Linked DNA regions of Homo sapiens: all the other regions are linked to region 1. Evidence: promoter capture Hi-C in 16 types of primary human blood cells and fetal thymus (Javierre and others, 2016). All regions are on one chromosome and are shown on one strand. The core of a region is centred on a gene start or on the middle of the fragment in contact, and the rest is flanking DNA. Distances in the headings are between cores, read along the strand shown.

Evidence for each region. The method cuts DNA at HindIII sites, captures the fragments that hold promoters and counts their contacts. A CHiCAGO score of 5 or more calls a contact.
Region 2: the fragment with the promoter of MGST1 here is called in contact with the fragment with the promoter of H2AJ in region 1 in 1 of 17 cell types (M0 macrophages); the score reaches 6.3 in M0 macrophages.
Region 3: a fragment that was not itself captured here is called in contact with the fragment with the promoter of H2AJ in region 1 in 6 of 17 cell types (total CD4 T cells, erythroblasts, naive CD4 T cells and 3 more); the score reaches 7.4 in total CD4 T cells.
Region 4: a fragment that was not itself captured here is called in contact with the fragment with the promoter of H2AJ in region 1 in 1 of 17 cell types (fetal thymus); the score reaches 5.7 in fetal thymus.

What each region holds. Positions count from the first base shown.
Region 1 is chr12:14,771,984-14,777,481 of GRCh38, reverse strand. It overlaps H2AJ (H2A.J histone), which reads right to left and starts at 3,077. Exons shown (of 1, transcript NM_177925.5): 1 at 2,458-3,077. The coding sequence starts at 3,011. The coding sequence ends at 2,622. RefSeq lists enhancers at 1,967-2,116, 1,823-2,739, 2,627-2,786, 2,797-3,126, 3,317-3,526 and 1 more. The HindIII fragment of the contact is 5,193 bases long and covers 1-4,688 here.
Region 2 is chr12:16,344,349-16,349,846 of GRCh38, reverse strand. MGST1 (microsomal glutathione S-transferase 1) reads right to left here and starts at 2,202. Exons shown (of 4, transcript NM_020300.5): 1 at 2,137-2,202. RefSeq lists enhancers at 323-1,252, 2,183-3,112. The HindIII fragment of the contact is 2,670 bases long and covers 205-2,874 here.
Region 3 is chr12:15,901,234-15,906,731 of GRCh38, reverse strand. STRAP (serine/threonine kinase receptor associated protein) reads right to left here. Exons shown (of 10, transcript NM_007178.4): 10 at 3,254-3,815. The coding sequence ends at 3,754. Among named protein-coding and RNA genes, the nearest start is that of DERA, 7.3 kb to the left of the region's middle. The HindIII fragment of the contact is 6,674 bases long and covers 1-5,416 here.
Region 4 is chr12:15,795,695-15,801,192 of GRCh38, reverse strand. No RefSeq gene overlaps it. Among named protein-coding and RNA genes, the nearest start is that of EPS8, 9.1 kb to the right of the region's middle. The HindIII fragment of the contact is 3,373 bases long and covers 1,626-4,998 here.

The DNA.
Region 1 (5,498 bases), core at 1,828-4,327:
GCAGGCACAACTAAACAGACCAGTCCTCGGGGACACAAAGACAAGACTGGCCCTGCAGGAAAAACAAAGATCAAACAAATCCTGGCCAAGCCACAGCCACACTGAACGGCTTGCTTATCTCTGCAGGAAAGAGTGTGTGTGTGTGTGTTTGTGTGTAAATAAAACTATGGATTATAACTCTATTAAAAACTGGAATTCAGTTCCCATCAGATTTTGTCTTAGGCCTTTTTCCATATGGTCTTATGCTTAAAGAAATACTGGCCTTTTAAATTCATAATCACACATCAGCAAGAACTACTGTTTGTTCATCATGGATCATGGGCTGAGCTGATTTTGTAGGAGTATGCATTTTAAACAGCCCGTAAACTATTCGGGTTAAAAAAAAAACTCTCAAAAACAAAAATGGTGAGGGGCTGACTGAACGTTGAGGCAGGCAGAGTATGTGAGGGGATGCTAAGAATCCTTTGGGTAGTGGTGGGAGAGGCGGGTGGCGACAGGGCAGTTACAATGCCTCGTATCTTGTCTATGTTGCTCATCATGTAACAAGAGCTGGACAGATTCCTGTGAATCTTCCCAGGGGAAGGCAAAGGTGCTTTTTCTTATGAATGTCTTGATGTCCCTTGTCCTTATTTCTTCATCATTTTGGTAACAATCCCTCAGATGCCTCATCCCTTTAAGAAATTTAGACTCAAATGTCAAAACCATATATGCATTTTGTTCCACTGACCCCAAGTGGTAACTGTGAGTAGTAGTTCTAACAATGAGGCATTTTTTAAAAAGTCCTATTAATGTTTACCTATAATTTAACCTATAAGGATAAACCCATACCCCCATTGAACATGGTACTTTTTTCCATTTATTGTCTAATATGTGGCACACAGTAAATGAACAATCTCAATCCTTAAAACAGGTGTTATGACTTTTACATATGACAAAACCACAGAGTAAATAGCAGAACATCTCGAACCTGCCCAATAATTTGCCTCCTAACAGAGGTGTGTACGGCCTGACCTTTGTACACCTCAAAAATGGCAACATGGGAGAAGTAATTCCATCATTCATCCACACACAGCAGAGAGGTACAAGTACTAACAGAAGCTGATCTCTCATATTAACGTATGTATTTGTTCCTTGTCCCGTCTTCAGGAACCAATAAAAATAAAGTGAGCTCCGAGAGAGTGGAAATCTGGTTGGCCTCATTCACAGCTCTACTCCTATCACTTTGTACAGAGCCTGGCATAGACAGCTGTTCAATAAATACTGGGGACAAAATAAAGTCCATGTGGGAAAATGGGCCAGCCGCTACCAAGGATGAAGACATACAATATATACATATATTTTTGGGGAAGACTTCAATTCCGACTCACAGGAAAGATGAATCCAAAGATGTGAAATCTGTACTGGGATCTTTTTTGTGGGGTCTGTGAGCCAGGATGAAATTTGCTGAGGATGAAATAAATAGGAGTGTCAATTAAGGGCAGAAGATGATTACTAGTGTTAACTTTTCAATGTGGATTCCTGGTCTGAAATGTGTTTCCCCCTGCACTTACATATTTGGTCCTATCTTTCCTTACATGTTTATTAAAGCAATATTGTGCCATTAGGCAATGCAACTCCCAAAGACATTACTGGAATGAGGTCATTGCTTCAGGCTAGTGGGAGAATATAAGAGAGTTCAAACAGGTTATTTGTTGGGTAAGAACCCCTAAAAGCAAGAGGTTTTTGTTTTGTTTGAAAGCAAAGTCAAACCGATTCTCAAAGTGAATATGATATGATGAAGACAGGATCATTATGAAGCTAGAAACTTGACAACATCACTTTAAAAGCTCAAGCATATGTAACCCACGACTAAAGGCGCTGCAATGTTATGCAATATGACTGTCAGGGGAACGAATTTCCAACCTCATGACTCACTTATTGAACGTTTCCTTCATTAAAAAAAAAATATGAACATAAAAGTGCTATATAAAGATATCTGATATCCAAAGCATGAAAGCACAGCAGCTACTAGGCTAGGAAGAATCTCAAGTTGACATCGTGCCATCAGAGCCACCCTTCCAAGACGGAAAGTTACTCCACTTTTTGAAAAATATGGCCGCAGACACTTCCTGCCCCGAGCTCAGCTCGATCCGACGGTATCTTCCCAGAACTTGGTCCTGAGTGCTCACAAACTGGCAGGAGAGCGAAGGCTCTGTGAAAGGGAAGTAAAAATAATTCCGAAGGAGGCCTCACCGCACCGACTCTGCCTCCCCTTTGCCCTACTGACAGCGAGGTGGCTTCCACCCTGCCCACCTCCAGGCCACCCTCCCCTGACGCCTCGAGGGTGACCTGCGGACTAAAGCCGTCCAGAGTGGCTCAAGCCCACCCACCAGTGCCTGCTCCAGGGGTTTCCCGGTCGCCCCCCTCCCCTGGGGCCATCCGACATGTCCCCGCGACTACACAGCTCTCTCGACCAAACGATTTTCACCAACTTTATTGGCTCCCGCCGGGACCCTCGCCGCCCACCTCCCCGCTAGATGTCACCGGCCCTCCATGACATCCAGCACATTCAAAAGCATTGCGGGACGACCATGAAAAGGGCCTTTGCTGGGGGAGCCAGCTCCCTGAGGGCGGCGTCAGGGTCATTTGCTCTTCGTCTTCTGACTCTCCGTCTTCTTGGGCAGCAGCACGGCCTGGATGTTGGGCAGGACGCCGCCCTGAGCGATGGTCACTTTGCCCAGCAGCTTGTTTAACTCCTCGTCGTTGCGGATGGCGAGCTGCAGGTGGCGGGGAATTATCCTGGTCTTCTTGTTGTCACGCGCGGCGTTGCCAGCCAGCTCCAGGATCTCCGCCGTAAGGTACTCCAACACCGCCGCCAGGTACACCGGCGCCCCGGCGCCCACTCGCTCCGCGTAGTTCCCTTTGCGCAGCAGTCTGTGCACTCGGCCCACCGGGAACTGCAGGCCCGCGCGGGAGGAGCGGGATTTGGCCTTTGCTCGCACTTTGCCGCCCTGTTTCCCGCGACCGGACATGATCACCTCTCGCCTACAACTCCAGAGACGGAGACAAACCGCTCTCGGCGTCCGGTACCGGAATGCAACGTACCGCACCCGAACTGCCTCTACAAACTCTTTACGGCCGCGCGGCAGCCCCTTTCCATTGGCTCTGGTGACCAATGACAGGCAGGCTCCGCTCCCAACTAGCGCTCTGGAAGAGAGACCGCCTCCTCCAGCTCTCTCCAATCAATAGAGCAATCTCCGAATCCTCATTTACATAGCCGCTCACATAAATAACGAGGCCAGCCGGCTCAGTCTTTGGGGACCCAGATGAATTTAGCGGTTACGGGTTTTCCACGACCACGCTCGCTTCCAAGCACATAAACTCGTAGGAAATAAGAAAACATGGTTGGAAACAGAAAACAATCCAGAAGAAGAGCTACAGGGGTTGTCCGTAGACGTTGCTATGCTAAGTGGATGTTCTCATATAATACACCGTACTACTCAGGTAGGTTTCTGTCTCCGCAGCCCGTGCTGCTTAGGCGAAACAACAGCCTGTCCGCGGAATTCTGCCTGCCCAGGACAGGGTCCGTGGACTGTTTCTTATACAAGCGCCTTGCCTCCAGCTAGCTACCCAACAGTGTAGAGACCACCCTGGTCTCCCCGCAGGGTCCTGCGGCTCACAGCCAGCCAATCGTTCACTTTTGAGTCTGAAGCTAGAGTGATGACCAGACGTGAATGCTTCCTGTGCTGACGGGAGGAACAAGCTCGCCTAGCCAAAATATCTTTTGTCTTTGAGGCTATGGGCCTGCAAAGAGCCACTAGGTTTTATTGGAGAGGCCAAAGTCTTGGCCTTGGCTTGCTCCCCGCAAGCCAGGGCGCCACAGATCAGCGGATCGGGTCCTCTGCGAAGACGTGGAGGTCCCCCGGGTCTCTTTGTAAATGAGTCCAGAGACTAAAGTCAGAATGGCAGCTTATTCTTATATACCTGAATTGTGGACCCATGCTTTTTGAAACAAAAAGAGTGTTTCAAGTGTTTTGTTTTAATTAAAAATTACTTTCTCCTAATTCATCGAGGTCATTTCATTTTTACCTGAACATTTTCAGTAACACAGTTAACACCGATACGTGATGTAATGTTGAACGCTTGCTTTTTAAAATAAACATTTTATGTGGATTCATTTACATTTAAAGTAAAGCAAATTTACCTTCTCACTATCCGAATAAAGATTTGACTTCATTGAAATAACATTTTCAAATATTTATGTATATGTCATTACTGCCTAGAACAATGATGAACCCATACTGGGGACTCAATAAATGTCTTCAGAGCTATTGTCATGGTTTAGGCGGTCTTTCCGGAGCCAGTCTGCCTCAGCCTAAATCCTGGCTTTACCACTGAGCAGTGACCTTTGATAAGTTATTTGACTCCTCTACCTGTATCAAAGTGTTTTGAAAATTAAATACGTTAGTAAGCATCCAATAACTCTTAGATATACCAAATAAATGGGCATACAAATCTCTGATGCAGTTTTTAACGAGATGTTCCTGGAATGAGTTCTGTAAACTAGCTTAAATTTTTGCCTGTATCTTGGGGAATTTTCAAGAGTTTTTAAAAGTATTACTATTTTAGACACGATTTTTTTTCTTTTATTCCAATAAGCAAGAGATTTCTAATTTGAAAATGTTCTAGTCTTGATTTCTTAGAAAGCTTAACTATAAGTAAGTCAACCGATTTTACCATTACAATAATTTTTTTTTTTTTTTTTTGAGACGGAGTCTCGCTCTGTCGCCCAGGCTGGAGTGCAGTGGCGCGATCTCGGCTCACTGCAAGCTCCGTCTCCCGGGTTCACGCCATTCTCCTGCCTCAGCCTCCCGAGTAGCTGGGACTACAGGCGCCCGCCACCACGCCCGGCTAATTTTTATGTATTTTTAGTAGAGATGGGGTTTCACCATGTTAGTCAGGATGGTCTCGATCTCCTGACCTCGTAATCCGCCCTCCTCGGCCTCCCAGAGCGCTGGGATTACAGGCGTGAGCCACCGCGCCCGGCCCCATTACAATAATTCTTATCTCTTCAAGATCTGATAGACTTTTCCTCTTCCCTCTGAGTCAAATATTAAAATCATGAGTGAAGTTCGACCATTCAGGACTTTTTCCAGCCATTCAAGACAGTGTTCCAACTCTTTTATCTTTAACAAAAAGTAAAAGAAAAATAAATACCTTTTGGGTTATGAAGATGGGCATGGATTGAAACAAATGTAAACTATAGGCATTTATAAATATAACAAAATTTTACCATAAAGTCTTCCTGCTGTAAAGGCTTATCTTCAAGACCAGGGACAAAGAAGCCCCACTTACTAAAATTCATTGCTCAGAATCCTAATTAACTACCTGGGAAAGACTTATGACTCATCCTCTAAATAACAGCTGCTTTTTAACACAGTAAAACCTTTAGAGAAGACAGGGTCCTGACACCTTTGAAGAGCGGTGACACCTTACAGAAACTTTCGTTTTTGTTCAGG
Region 2 (5,498 bases), core at 953-3,452, 1.6 Mb before region 1:
CGTGAACCCGGGAAGCGGAGTTTGCAGTGAGCTGAGATCGTGCCACTGCACTCCAGCCTGGGTGACAGTGCGAGACCCCGTCTCAAAAAAAAAAAAAAAAAAAGAAGCTCTGGGACCTGTTAAATGCTGTGTGTTTGGTAAATAAAAAACTTCCGACTTTGGCGCTGTTCTAGGCACTGAGGATTTTAGAATTTTCAAAAAGCTTTTGCATATTTTATCTCGCTTGACCCGAAAAATCCTGAGGTAGAGCAAATAATATTTTTTTCTACCTTTAGTATGTAAGGAAATTAAGGCCCAGAAAAGTAGTGAGTAATATGACCCAAATTCACAGTGGAGAGACCAAGACTGCAACTTAGTTTTCTCAAGTGTTTACCTCTGGGCTACCCACCATCAAGGCTAAGAATTCTCAACAGCTCTGGTCTTCTGGAGGCCTTTCCTTGTCAAATCTCATTCCTGTTTTCTACCCCTCCCCCCAAACCCCCGTACTATCTAGCAGAGAAGAATCTTCACTTCTCAGTTGAGGAACGCCCTTTCCCTTTACAGGCTTTTGGCCAAAATGAGCAAAGTTCTCTTCTCAGGATGAGGTGGCCAGCCTTTCTGCATCAATATTGTGAAACACATGAATAATCTGGGCACGCATCCCCAGGGCCATGACTCTGCAATTTTGTACCTTCTAAAACTAACAAACACTACACATGAGATAAAGAAAAAAGATAATTCGGTGGCCATGTTGCGGATACGTTAATCTGGAACTCTAGATGAATTCTAGCATTTCCTGAAGGCATCGTGGTGGCTGCAGACTCAGCCCACTATGTGGTCTCATGCAAAGTGGGGTTCAGAGCCCAGAGGCTGCAGGTGAAATGCTGGTGCCTCTCGGGAGAGTGGTGGGGTAAGGCCTTTCTCTGTGCTGACCTGACCTCCTTTTCCAATCTCAGGGATTCATAGACACCACTCTAAAACAAAGCGGTAGAAAAATTTTACTCGTCTGCCAGAGAGGGTAATATCCAAATTTGGACTGATTTGCCTTTTTTTTTTTTTTTTTTTTAATTACCAAAGATAATCGCACACATAGCCCTCTTATTTTGGAAACAGCAGAGGACAACAAAGTCCAGTACTATCCTAAGGCCAAGAAAAGCATATGCAAAAGGTAGGTGTAGGCTGGGACTCACAGCAGGCTGGGACCCCAGGAAAACTGGGCTTTAAGGATTGCTCACTGGAGGCCTGGGTGCTATACAGCAATGCTTGCGGGCACCCACTCAGCACTCACTGGGTAAGAAATTAGGGAGAAGAAATAGGGGAATATAAACGTGGAGCTCAGACTGCCACATTTCAAGAGAAGCAGAGAGACTAGAAGATTTACATGCACTCCTCTCTCCTCTGTCCCAAGCCAGCTAGAGCAATATATGACACCTTAATTCCCGAAAAAGAGAGTTCCCTTCTCCTTTTCTCCTTCCACATGGCTTCCTCCTCCAGACTGGGGAAGTGGGGCACAGGTGAGAACCGTCCCAAGGGGCTCACCCTTAGCTCTCTTGTCACTGGCTATAATATCACACAAAAATATTATCATCTAACCCACATCCTCTTGTTTCGATAGCTAGCATTATTAGCAGTAGTATTATTTAGTATTATTTTAAAACTTGCTGATGTTTCTCCTATCAAAGTGAACTCAGAAGAGCAAATCCTGCCTTACAATAGGCATAAAGGCCACTATGCCCATGAAACCTGAGACATCGCAGGCTTTTGCACTCTTGGGGAGAACAGCAGTCGTTCAAACTACAGGCATTTCCTCCATTACTACACGTGCCTTTTCCTCCTTCCCCAGAGTTCAAGGGACCCTTTCAAACAGGAGGTTACTTTGACTTGAAAAGGCTAAGTTTGGAAATCATCACTCAAGCATGAAAAGACTCTCTCGTTTCATTCCTGGAGTTTGAGAAATGGGAAAACTTACCCGCACGGGGACAGAAATACAATTCCCTTTCAAAAGCGATCGATTGAAAAGCTAAGTTTAGCTGCTAAGTGGAGCCAAGCACTTCCAGCTGGCAGAGACCCCCCCAAGTCTTCCATCTGCCACCCACCCTGGCCCTCCCTGCCTGCCACCCTTTGCATGCGGTCCCCTTCTCCCCTCCCAGTACGCACGGTGAGGCCGAGGAGGAGGAAGCAGCAAGCCTGTCCCGCCGCCGGGTCGCGCGCAATGCAGGGACTGTGGCCGCGCGGGCCGGACGCAGGCACCGCCCCTCTCCAGTTAATCTCCTGTTAATTAGCCCTCCCACGTTTAAAGCCCGACCCCAACCTCGCCAAACCCCTCCTCTAAATCACCTGATTTACCCGCCCACAGTAACCATCGCCTGCTGATTCCCTTTGAGCCCTTCTATTTGGCGCCCTTAGAAACTCTGGTTCCTGAAATGCCAACTCCCCTAATCAGTGGGAAGGGGGACAGTAGCCATTGTCTAGGAACTCTGAATTCTCGAACATTTCAGGATCAGCAGAGTTTTGGAAGTTGTTTTTAAAAACTTCGCAGAAAGTTAAAATCTCCAGGGTAGAACTAATTAGCAGGCATTGACAATATTACCTTCCCTTAGACTTCACCTCCCCTGCGCTGGTGGCAAGGCCTCCTTAAAAGGCTGACAATGACAGAATGTAACCCTCAGTAAAGATCACTTACGGTGTTCCAAATTCATGATACCAGACAATTTGCTTTGTCACGATGTCCCCTCCTGTTCAGGGTCCAGAATGAAATTGGAGGCAATTGTACTGGATCAGCTCATTACACAATCAGCTTAGTGTGTTTTTTACAGGGAGGTTTAGAGGAACGTTTACGGAAGCCGTAGATATTTAGCCTACCATCACTATCTAGATTAGGGATACTTCCAAGCTTCCTAGTCCCCATAGTCCCCACAATATTTATGGATCTATCTTTCATGGGTTTATATGAGAAATGTTTAAGGATTTCTGTTTTCAATCTATATTATTTCTCTCCTAGTGCTATATCTCAGACACTCACCACCTGTTGCAAGGTCTACTTCCTTTTTTTGCTCTTAATTTACTCCTTTAGGCTTTAAAGGATATCCCTAGGACTAACTTTCTAGGATGTGATGGACAAGTTCATGTTCTATTAAAGAAAGAAATAACTACCAGTTTGCTCTAGGAACAGAAATTAATCCAAGGAAGGTCTGAGAATGATTTCTATATAAGCATAACAGTAGGAGTTTTGGAAAATCTAGCATCAGAAGGCATCTGTTCTTCACTTTTATGTCTGTATCTTTTCAAAACTCTACTTATTCACCTATCTTTGTAAAGTATACTAGAATCTGTCTGTAACATTAACTGGAATAGGATAGAATTTGAGATGACATAAATCTATTCTGAATTCTCTCCAAAGGAGTTTGGTATTATAAGAATTTAAGACTCTCTTCATTTATTATAAGGTGATACAGGCCAAATCTTATGGATAACATGGCAGAAAAAGGAAGAGGAGAGCTACTGTTTAGATAATTTGGTCTACAGAATGCTAGTTGAATGGTTCTAACATTTTTTTTTTTTTTTTTTTGAGACGGAGTCTGCCTGTGTAGCCCAGGCTGGAGTGCAGTGGCGCGATCTCAGCTCACTGCAAGCTCCGCCTCCCGAGTTCACACCGTTATCCTGCCTCAGCATCCCAAGTAGCTGGGATCACAGGCACCTGCCATCACGCCTGGCTAATTTTTTGTATTTTTAGTAGAGACGGGGTTTCTCTGTGTTAGCCAGGATGGTCTTGATCTCCTGACCTCGTGATCCACCTGCCTCAGCCTCCCAAAGTGTTGGGATTACAGGCGTGAGCCACTGCGTCCAGCTGGTTCTAACATTTTTTTAAAAAAGAAAGTAGCACTTGACTCATCTAATGCTCTAAATATAGAATGTGTTCAAACTATTAATTGATCAATGAATAAATACTGAGTTCCTACTATCACTAAATCACGAACAATTATTGCCTGTTACATACATATATATATGTGTGTGTGTGTTTGTGTGTATCAGGCAATATTATATATATACATACGGATATATATATGACACTGTATTGGGTAGAATATTAGCAGTTGGTTTAATTGAATAAACATTTATTAAATGAATGCAATGTACTTGGTTTGATGCTAAAATCTAAAACTAAGATAAATAACGTCAAAGAGCTGTCCTCCAGGATTTTACAATCTAGTAAACACAAAGGCCAAAAAGGTAAAAAGTTGCCATTAAGCTTGTGGAAGGAAAGTTTCCATTTAGAAATAAGAATGACAGTTGGGGTGTGAACTAGGGCGGTAACAGGTAAAAGTTGTAAAATAATTGACACTTTATATTCATCTTTGTTATAAGCTCTTAAATGATTGAGAAAGAGAGAGAGTTGTTATTCAGCTTAGTTTCGTCTGGGTAAAAGAATGGATTCAGCTTTTCAACCCTTCCTCTCACCACCATTTAAATTCTAGAATACCATCTTTTAGAGAAACTCAATCCAAGCCTCAGAACAAGTAATTCCCTAGTAAATATTAAAACAGTTTAAAAGGTCATTGATTTGGGGTGAGGAGAGCAAAGGTCATTCATCTGAAAAAGGAATTACCACAATAAAGAAAAAAAAAGCAGACTGTTCAGGGGATCAAATTAGAAATATCTGGAAGAGCAAAGCATTGGAAGTCCAGTAATACCTTTGTCTGTTTTTAAAACAGACAAAGTAAAAATGGCAGAAAGAATTGCCATCACCTTCTGTTAAGGCTTGCTGTAAATAGGAAGAAAACAGGTGCCTGTCACTCCCCTCAATTATATTGGGGCCTTTGTTTTTCCCTAAATCCACAGAACAGGTGCCCTGCCACAATCTGAAACTTACTGGGGGATTTCAGTAAACTTGCATAAGAATATGTTTTAAGGTCAAGAGAGCAAAAAGTGAAACAAAAATAAGCAATATTCTGAACACTTAAGGATTATTTTAGAGTTATAATACATTTTAAACATGTATACTAGATTGTTTATTTCTCCCAATAACCCTATAAGGGAGTTCTTATTTTTCCTATTTTTTAGACAGACACTCTGAGATACACAGCAGCCTGAAAGCTGTGCTAACTTCTGAAATAAACTCTTAAGCTAATATTGTCAAGAGGCAAAAGTAGCCACGATGAAAGGAACAGAACTAAAAAATGATAAAAATTCTTGAAGCTAATCAAGAGAGTATAGTAAGGGTATAAGGATAGACAAATAGGTCAAAAGAATAGAATAGAATCCAGAAATAGAACTATATTTAATTGATCAATTGATTTTCAACAAGGTGCCAAGACAATTCACTGAAGAAAGGAAAGCTTTCAACAAAAGGGGCTGGAACCACTGAATAGCCACATGGTAAAAAAATTGAACTTTGACCCTTAACTGACATCATACACAAAAATTCAAGCTGAATCACAGACCTCAAGGCTAATACTATAAAGCCTCTGGAAGAAAACCTCGATTATCTTCATGACCTTGGGGTCGGTAAAGACGTTTTA
Region 3 (5,498 bases), core at 830-3,329, 1.1 Mb before region 1:
GAGACTCCAGGGGATGAATTGGATGAGAAGGCAAGTGAAAGCTGGATTCTTCCTGGGTAACTTCAGTCTCACACCGGCTGAAGCTGTACACGGGTTCACTGGAGAGGTAAGAGCTTTGTCTTGCCATGTCTGCCATGCCTGCCATGTCTCACTCTTCAGTGGAGGATGGCCTGCTACATATGAGATAACTGGAAAACAGTCTTCCTGGTCTGACATGGATTACTGGGAGAGATTAAAAAGATTTGGTGAGGGACTTGTTTCAACAACTATTGAGCACTCACAACATACCAGTCACCTTTCCAGGTAAAGGGAGACTATCAATGAAGCTGAAAAACATGCAACAAAATTTCAAATAGCGTTAACAAGTATGAATAAAATAGGACTCAGTAAGAAGTGACAAGAGATGGAATACAGACCAGCTGGAGAACTGAATGCAAAGAAAGGATCCAGCCAAGCAAAACATTAGGTAAGAGTGAACCAAGTAGCAGAAATATCAAGTGAAAAGGACTTGAGACAGAAATGAGGCCACTGTGGCTAGAGCAGGGCAAGCAAGGGAAATATGAAAAAGTCACAAAAGGTATCAAGAGCCAACTAATCATAAGAATTTCATATAATGGGAAGCCATTACAGATCTTAACAAGGAAATCACCTCATCTCTTCAAATCCTAAAGCAATTACCTTTCCTACTGTATGGAGTATGGATGGGATAAGAGCCAGACGAATGAGTAGGGGCAAGAGGGAGCAGTTATGAAGGAACTGAGAAATAAAGGTAGCCTGCCTAGGGTGGTAACAATGGAGAGGAGGCAAAGCACAGCTTCGAAGAGCCCACAGGACTTGCATATAGACATGGGCATGAGAGAGAACACAGTCAAGGATTTACATGTCTTTTAGTTTGAACAAGTAAGTATAAGTTAGTACCAGTTAGTGGAATGGGGAAAGGTTGAGGGAAACAGGTTTGATTTAAAAAATCAAGACTTACGATAGGTAAGTCTGAGTCTTATGAAAGGTTAAGATGGAGCACTCAACTATGCTGTCAAACTCTGGTGCTCAAAGAGGCAGACCAGGTAGACAACATATAAACAACGATGTAGAACCTATCAGAAGATCTTGAGTAACAGCAGATATTTTTCTTTAGACAACAGAGCTAGAAAGTGCAGCCCAGATCTGAAGTCAAGAAAAAAAAGGAGGAACTGGCAAATACAAGAGTCAGTAAGGTATAAAAAGACCCTGCCGGGCACGGTGGCTCACATCTGTAATCCCAGCACTTCGGGAAGCCGAGGCGGGTGGATCACGAGGTCAGGAGATCAAGACCATCCTGGCCAACATGGCAAAACCCCGTCTCTACTAAAAATACAAAAATTAGCTGGGCGTGGTGGTGTATGCCTGTAGTCCCAGCTACTCAGGAGGCTGAGGCAGGAGAATCGCTTGAACCTGGGAGGCAGAGGTTGCAGTAAGCTGAGATCGCACCATTGCACTCCAGCCTGGGTGACAGAGCGAGACTCCATCTCAAAAAAAAAAAAAAAAAGACCCAGGAGTGTAGTTTCATAGAAGCTAAAAAAAAAAATCAAAAACCAGGAAGTGGATGATTATTGAATGCTGCTGAAGGTTTAGTTAAGATGAGAACAGAAAAGTGACCACTACTCTTGAAAGTTTTGTTAAATTCTACTGTAGGATTCTACCATTACCAAGTGTGGTAAGCAGACTAATAACTAATGGCCCCCACAAAGATGTCTACTTCCCAATCCCCAGAACCTGTGAATATGTCATCCTATATGGCAAAAGGGACTTTTGCAGATGTGATTAAATTGAAGATCTTGAATTGGAAAGATTATCCTGGATTATTCAGGTGAGCCCGATATAATTACAAACCTCCTTATAAATAAAAGAAGGCAGCAGGAGATAGAGTCACATTCAGAATAAGAGATTAAAAAACGGACACTGCTGGACGTAAAGAAAGAGGAAGGAACCATGAGCCAGGGAATGCAGCTGGCTTCTAGAAGCTAGAAAAGGCAAGGGAACAGATTGTCCTGTAGAGCCTCTAGAAGGCTTGCAGCTCTGCTGACACCTTAATTTAAGCCCAGCAAGACCTACTGTGGACTTCTGACCTCCCTAACCGTAAGATAATAAATTTGTGTTGTCTTAAGGTACACATTTGTGGTCACTTGTTACAGCAGCAGCAGGAAACCAATACACAAAGGACTGTACCTGTACAGGGTCATTAGACTTTTATGAAACCTAAGGAGAAATTCCCTTGGTTCATAAATAACAAGCAACTTCATGATTCCAATCTGATGCGTACAGAACTTTATTGAGGGTAAATCAGACTCTGATTAGAGTCTGAGCAACTGCTGGTACAATGACAACACTGCTGCAATCCAGAGGTTCAGGCATGTAACAAGCTGACACAAAAATACTACCACTCTATGAAAGCCAATATGGATCACCAGTTGGCTCCCCTGTATTTCTCTCGGCCCTCACAGGTTGTCACAGCCTACAGTGCTTTCTTCTGGTTATCACAAATCCTCAAAAATTAATCTTATTCTTTGGTTGACTCATATTGCTTTTAAGAAAAGTTATCAAGGGTCACTCACAGGACTGATCAGGAGAAAAAGGAAGTTGCAGAGATGTTATTTATTCATCTGAAGTATTTCCAAATTACTCATTTAATATGCCCTCTTTGTTTTAAAAAATAAATTACAAGTCTAAACTCAGCTGATCCAATTTATTAGAAGGTTTTAGAAGGGCTTTCTGAATGCCACCCAAATTTAAAGAATGAGGTAAAATTCCATACTTCTTAAACCACTGCAGGACTATAGTAATCCCATTTTTATAAAATCCATTCTATCTATCTGTATATACATACAGAGATGCCCTAACATGCATTCATGGTCATTTGATTTTAATAGTTTTTTGAGGAGTGGTAGGATTTTAAGTGATCTTTCAGCTTACTGCTAAATTTCAGTTGATTTTTTTTTTCTTATAACTAGCATGTATTATTTAAATAATTGTTTAAAAAGGCATGTCAAGCACTTCTATCCAATCTGGGAATAGAGAAGGTAAATGAAACACTAGTAAAGGACATAAGAATTTCAAAAATTCAGGACAAGTAACTGAATCTCAATATTATAAAATAATGTTTACTACAGATTAATTGGCTTACCTTTTGCTATGGTTATGATACAGAAAAACCTTCTGGCTATTTCCACTTATAAAACTCACATTAGTAGTTTTTCCCCAAAAAAACCAAACATTGTTTTGTTTTAGAGGCATTTTATTTAGACAACTAAAAACAATTAGATGTTCAGAGGCAGTGTACAATGAACGAGAAATCAAACCAGTTACTTTATCATGTATTCCCTCTTCTTTACAACTGAAGCAAAAAAAGAAAAGGCATTCTGCTTTAAGATCAGAAAAAATCAGCCAATATAGTTTTCTTCTCCATATTAACATAAACAGCTACAAGAACCCTAATTGTAATAATAGAAATTGGATGTTGGCTTGTATATATTCATTAAAAAGATAACAGGCCACTGTACTATAAGAGGATAACTCCACCTCCCTTCATCTGACACTTGAGTTTTCACTTACAGGTAACACCAAGTTAGTTAGTTGTTCCAGCACTGGAGCTAATTCATTTTCCTCATTATTTACTGCTGTTTCTGCCTTAAGCAGACAGTAACTCTGGAAGGCTGATGCTTTTCTCTGCTTGCTTGTTTTAGTCAGTTGTATACTAACTGCACATATGATTGACGCTCAGGCCTTAACATCAGGAGCTGAAGGAAAGATGCAATCTGAATTCTCTGAAGCAATTTCTTCTATAAGTAAAAAAAAAAAAAAAAAAAAAAAGTCACATTAGTCAACTTAATGAAAGAAAGAAGCAAATCTACATTTCTGTGTAATGAAGGAATGAAAAAGTGTTTGTAAAGCATACTGTGGTAAGGGAAAGAAGAGAGCAACTGCACATGCCACTAACAACTAGACTCATGTCATTGAAAAGGCAAAGAAGAAAGAGTTCATGTGTTTTATCCACTAGATTCTCTTACACCATAACTCAACCTCCAAGGGTCCCTTTCTGGCCTAAATTTTCAAAGACTCCAGCTATATAACAAACCCGGAATTAAAGTCATGTCTTCGAAGGATCTGGCCCTCTCTTTTAGTGATTCAAATCCTAATATTTAGTGCTATTTAAAGCAAAACATTAACCATCAACATTGTTTTAGCAAGAAGGTGCTTAACAATAAAAAATTTAAGGAAAACTCTATTGGGTAAATGGTAAACACCTTCCCAACCTCCCCCAAAATCATCATACCCAGTTTCTCATGGCAGCAATCTGCATATTTCTTCCTCATGATACCCCCACTCATCAATCTCACAATTCTAACAAGTCTAACAAAAGACTCTCAACTCCATCTACCTTTTTCTGTTCTCATTGCAATACCCTTATTAAAAACTACATGATAGGCCGGGTGCAGTGGCTCACGCCTGTAATCCCAGCACTTTGGGAGGCCGAGGTGGGCAGATCATGAGGTCAGGAGTTCAAGACCAGCCTGATCAACATGGTGAAACCCCATCTCTACTAAAAATACAAAAATTAGCCAGGCGTGGTGGTGCACCTGTAATCCCAACTACCCAGGAGGCTTACGCAGGAGAATTGCTTGAAACCAGAGGCGGAGGCTGCAGTGAGTCGAGATCATGCCACTGCACTCCAGCCTGGGCAACAGAGCAAGACTCCATCTCAAAACAAAACAAAACCTACATGATCACTCATCTAGACTACAATGCCCCCTAACTGGTTTATGTTCACTCTTGTTCCCAGTCCAATTCTTTGTACGTGCAACAGCCAAGGCAACCTTTTTTTTTTTTTTTTTTTTGAGACAGAGTCTCTCTCTGACACCCAAGCTGGAGTGCAGTGGCGCAATCTCGGCTCGCTGCAACCTCTACCTCCTGGGTTCAAGCTACTCTCCTGCTTCAGCCTCCTAAATAGCTGGGATTACAGGTATCTGCCACCATGACCGGCTAATTTTTGTATTTTTAGTAGAGACAGGGTTTCACCATGTTGGCCAGGTTGGTCTTGAACTACCAAGGCAATCTTTTAAAGTCCTCTTCTTAAAATTCAAAGGTTTCTCATTGCTCTTAGTATAAAACTCTCCAAGTCCTAATACAGCAAATGAGGCCCTCAGATGATCTAGCTTCTCCAGCTTCACTTTGCCTTTGCTCTTTAACCTGGAGGCATGGAGAAGTTCTTTTAGTTCCTCATATGCTATGCTCCTTTTTGGTTCTGAACTTTTAGTTAACATAGTTTTCCTGCTATGAACTTTTCCATCCTGTCCCTACCAACACCCCCTCTCATGACCTCACCTAAATCATTTCTGCTCATCCTTAGTTCCCAGTTTAAATGTCACTTCTCTAGGAAGCTTTTTTTAATCCCCCTTACAATAATTTGTGTTTTGGCATGTCTCCTAAGTTAGACTCTAGCTCTGAAAGAGTAACCACATCGG
Region 4 (5,498 bases), core at 2,063-4,562, 1.0 Mb before region 1:
GGAAGGACTTGCAAGTTGAGCGATAATAAAAATATTGGCAATTGACTGTTATTGTTTACAAAAGTCATGCTGAGATTCTACTTTTAATATTTTACAAATACTTCACTATTTATCGTCATAATCTTTTTTGTGCTAGAGTGAATAAGTTTTAAACTTTAGCTTATTTTTCGATGACCAAAATGTCATATATATATATTATAATAATATGGTTTTATAAGATGTCAGATCCTGAAAATAGATGACATCTATAAAATGAGACAATGTATCTCTCTCTTTTTTTCTCAGAGTGGGGAGTGTTGGGTTTTTTTTAAAGATAAGTATCTCAAAAATTGCAAATACAGGTGCGAATCACTAGCAAACAAAAAAGCCTCTAAATGGTTGAAATAGCTTTTATCATGAATATGAGCAAAGTTTATATACCTTATTATAAAACAACTTTTGGCCTTCTGATGTAAAACCTACTTACTCTAATTTCATACATAATTATAATGTTAGTATCTATTTCATTAAGTCACAGCAGATTAAAAGTGATAAATTAACAGGACAGGAAAGGTGGTAGAGGAAATCACAGCAACAAAACAGACGGGAGGATGCCAGATTGCATAGAGGCAGGAAGACTTAGAGAAGCAGACCTCGAGTCCTCAAAATGATAGCCATGACCTCTACATCCAAGACAAAACAACTCAGGCACCCTTTTAGTCACTGTTACATAAGTGCGCAGTGACTTATCTGCAGTATCAAAACAAAAGATTCATTTTTTTTTTAAGTTTGTTTGGTTGGGTTGTTTGTTTTCAAATTCCATTTGGTAGCAAAGCCTGACTTGTCTTGTACTTGTTTGGCAGCAAATCTTATCTGAACTGATGTGAGGCAACTTAGGAAGTTCATTCTAATTTGTGGGAATATGTTTTGCTGCAGAAATAATGTGTTAATTACAGACCTTATTTGGGGTGGGACGAATATATGGTATAAGTACCATGTTCCCTTTACAAAATTAAAAACATCTGGTTGCAAGGGTTTTGATTAAAGGGTCGTGTACCTCTGTAGTACAGTCATGAATGCCCAGAATGATGAGTGTGGTTAATAAGATCAGAAATGCATCCTTTGGCCAGGTGCAGTGGCTCACGCCTGTAATCCTAGCACTTTGGGAGGCCGAGGTGAGCAGATCTCTTGAGGTCAGGAGTTCGAGACCAGCCTGGCCACTATGGCAAAAACCCGTCTCTGCTAAAAATACAAAAATTAGCCGTGTGTGGTGGCACATGCTTGAAATCCCAGTTACTTGGGAGGCTGCGGCAGGAGAATCGCTTGAGCCCAGGAAGCGGAGGTTGTAGTGAGCCAAGATTGTGCCACTGCACTCCAGCCTGGGTGGCAGTGTGAGACTCTGTCTCAAAGAAAGAAAGAAAGAGAGAGAGAGAAAGAGAGAAAGAAGGAAAGAAAGAAAGAAAGAAAGAAAGAAAGAAAGAAAGAAAGAAAGAGAGAGAGAGAGAGAAAGAAAGAAAGAAAGAAAAGAAAGAAAGGGAAGGAGGGAAGGAAGGAAGAAAGGAAGGAAGGATGAAGGAAGGAAAGAAGAGAGGAAGGAAAGAAATGCATCCTTCATACAATAAAGTGAAGAAAATACTTTGAAAGCTTTGCATTTAAAAAGTGTTCATTAAAGTGGTACGAAACTTAATGTTTTTGGAAAGCCAACAAGTGTTTATAGCACACTTTAGAGATTCTCTCTTTCTTTCTCTGTGTGTGTGTTGGGGGTTGTGGATGTGTTTCTGAGTCCTTTAAGATGAAGTTACATTTAAAATCTGTGGGATATATTTGCTCTTGCCTTGCCCAAACTGGGATTTCTTAGCAACCAATGAATTTTTGATTAAAAAAACCAAAGCAAAAACGAAACTGGGATTTCTGTGCTGTGATCAGGAAAATGATCTTTAAGGTTGTTGGAATTACCTTGAGCACAAGTGATCTCGGTGAGATAGGTATTGATAAATGTGCATTTGCATTTTAAAACTTTCCAAATTCGTAATAGGAGTTTTCTTTCGTTTTATTTTCCCTGCTGAGGATTCTGCTGTTAAGGAAGAAGAAAGTTTGGGTGCCAACTAAAGGAAACAGTGTCTGTGTTTGCAATGCCAATGAGCTTACCCAGGGGGAATTGTTAAATAGCCTAAGGATTATTCTAGCTCAGCAATCCTAAAGATACAAAAATGCAACTTTGGACATTAGGGATGGGAGTTTTAAAAATCTGCCCGAGTTCTAGCAGGAGTAAAGAATTGAGAAACATGAAAAATCCACAATGAATAATAAAATATTACTAAGTTAAATTTTCTCTGCCACAAAATAATACTTTTTTGTAGTATTAAAAATGGCTTAAAATTCAATTATAGAAATAAATTAACTGAAATAGTGAAAGTGACTCCTATTACACTGTCACCCCTCTCCCATAAAATACTGGTAGAATGTTGGCTTATATTTATTTGTTATTCTTTTTTATATAAGTTAATTCATACTACATAATGTATTGCAACATGCTGTCTCCCCCCACCTTAATAAATATATATCTTGCTGTCTATCCTAGCTAGTAGTTAATGTCACCACCTCATTCTTTTCAATTGTATAGTAGAATTCCACTTTAAAGCTCTACTATAATTTTAAACAGATAGTTTTTTGAAGATTCCCCCCCCCCACAGTTATTTTATTTTCTTCCCTTTTCATTCTCATCTGCTTTTCTTTTTCTTTCTTTTTTTTTTTTTTTTTGCTTAGGCACAAGTAGGAAAATAAAAAGCCTAGATCTGATTAGAAAAAGCTGTAAATAGTGAGATAAGTGCTGCTCATAAATGGCAAATTTCCAGTTCTGCAGAACAAACAGCACCATTCTCTCAAAAAGATAAAACAAATGTCTCTTTTGCATTTTAAGGAACATTCAGCTGTTACTAGTAAATGGATCAATAACTCTCAAATTCAAAAATTAAATTTCTGTTAGTTATACAGAACATTAAAATTGCTGGAGGAAATCAACCTTTTCATAAAAACCATAAAAACAAACTTTCACATTTAAAATTGGAAACAGAATACCTGTGCTCTTGTTCAGAAAGGAGTTTTTTTTTTTGTTTTAAATCTACAGAGCTCATCAGTCATTCAAAGGTCAGAGATAATAGGGAATGAGACATTCTGATGACCTGAGTCCAGGTAAATAAGAGAATATGACTGGAGCACTTTCACCACAAATTAGAGCAACAATTCCATTGTCCTTCTTCCGTCATTCTGTCTCATCTCTTTTAGCCTTTCCCTAGCCATGGCTGTCTCCCTGCATTAAGGTCCTCCCTACCGTATGCAATTCCACAATTTTTCTCCCAGGAGGGACAAGAATAGTAATTAAGATGAGCACCGATGATTCACCTTACAATACTATTGCAACTTATCTGTGTTAGCTTCCTCATTTCATTCCTTTCCTGCCTTTCAGAGGTAACTACTATTCTGAATTTTGTGATAAACATTCCTTTGTTTACAAACAAATTTTTAACAAATGTCTGCTGCTCCTAAATAATAAATCATTTAGTTATGCTTTTCTGAGCTCTCTAAAAAGGATATCTTATCATGCATAATCTTCTATGACTTTTTTCACTCAACTCTAAGTTTCTAAGAGTAATCTATACTGCGGAACATAGTGGTTGCTTCCTCATGTTCACCGCTATAGAATATTTTGTTAACAGAATATACTAGAATTTATTTCTCTTTCTTGCAGTTTTACATATTTATAAATTTTATTATTATGATTTCTTCTTCTATTCATACATTATTGGGAAGTCTGTTTTTTTTTTTTTTTTTTTTTTTTTTTTTTAGATGGAGTCTCGCTCTATCACCCAGGCTGGAGTGCAGTGGTGGGATTTCAGCTCATTGCAACCTCCTCCTCCTGGGTTCAAGTGATTCTCCTGCCTCAGCCCCCGAGTAGCTGGGATTACAGGCATGTGCCACCACACCCGGGTAATTTTTTTTGTATTTTTAGTAGAGACGGGGTTTCACCATGTTGGTCAGGCTGGTCTTGAACTCTTGACCTCGTGATCTGCCCGCCGTGGCCTCCCAAAGTTCTGGGATTACAGGCATGAGCCAGCATGCCGGGCGGGGAGTCTGTTTTTAAATCCCATTTAAATTAATCTTTAGAAATTAAAAAGTACAATTAATTAAAATTTCATTTTAAACTTAAATGTTTTAAAAATTAGTCGGCTATTGATTTCTAACTGTACTGCCTTACAAACAGATGAGTCAAGATCAGAGGTCAGTGAATCACCACCCTATGGGCCACACTTGGCCTGTCACCTGTTTTTCTACAGCTGGCAAACTAAGAATGGTTGGTACATTTTAAATGGTCAAACAACACAAAAGAAGGATAATATTTTGAGGTCTGTAAAGATTACATAAAATTCAAATTTAGTGGGTCTTACATTAATTGGAACATAGTTAAGGTCATTTGCTTATGTATTGTCTATGGCTGCTATTGAGTTACACAGTGGCAGAGTTGTGTAGTTGCAATAGAGACCACTGACCTCCAAAACCTTAGCTTTTGTTATCAGGTCCTTTACATAAAAAGATTTTTAACCCCTTTTCTAGATGATGCAAATTCTCAGAAATGTATTAAGGTATGCTGGTTAATTTTTACAAATATTTCTTATGGGTTTGTTGAGTATGTGTATTCTCTAATTGCTATATGCCACATATGTATTATATATATGATATATACATATATCGATAGATATAGGTCTCTATATAAGTAATCTATATATATATTGAGAGATAGAGATAGATATAGAGAGATATCAATAACTTAACAGTGGTTGAATGGGTGTTGAAATAGCTACACTATGATAATGAGTTTTTCAATTTCCTCTTGTAGATTTTATCATTATGTGATGACCTTTTCTAGCCACAATAATGCTTTTTTATCTTGAAGCTCATTGCGTGTGATGTCAACATAGCTATACCAGCTTTAATTATTATATAATTGATATATCTTAAGCTTTCCACGTTCTTATGTTTGTAAATAACATATAGCTATATCTTTAAAAACTGCCTTGACTCTGTCTTTTAACTAGAAAGTTTAGTCCATTTATATTGTGATTATTTACATGCTTGAATGTTTTTCTCCTCAGTCTTTACCTTCTATCTATGTGTCTCCTTTCCTTCTACATTTCTTTTTTCTTGCTTTTTTGTGGCTTACAGAGGAAGATTGATTGTTAATATTTGTTTACCTCTTATTCTTTCTCCCTTCCTCTACTGGTTTGGAATTTCTACATCACATTTCCGTTCTTTTAGAGTCTTTAAGATATTGTAGAGCATAATGGTCAAAACCACGTTCTCTGCTTGAATTCAAATCCTAGCTTCATCACATACTAACTCTATGATTTATTATCTTTGTGTGTGTGTGTGTTTACCTGTAAAATTGAGGTTGTGAAGTACCATATGGATCATTTCTGTTAAAATCTTATTGTGAATATTTTTCTTAAGGACACTTAAAATTA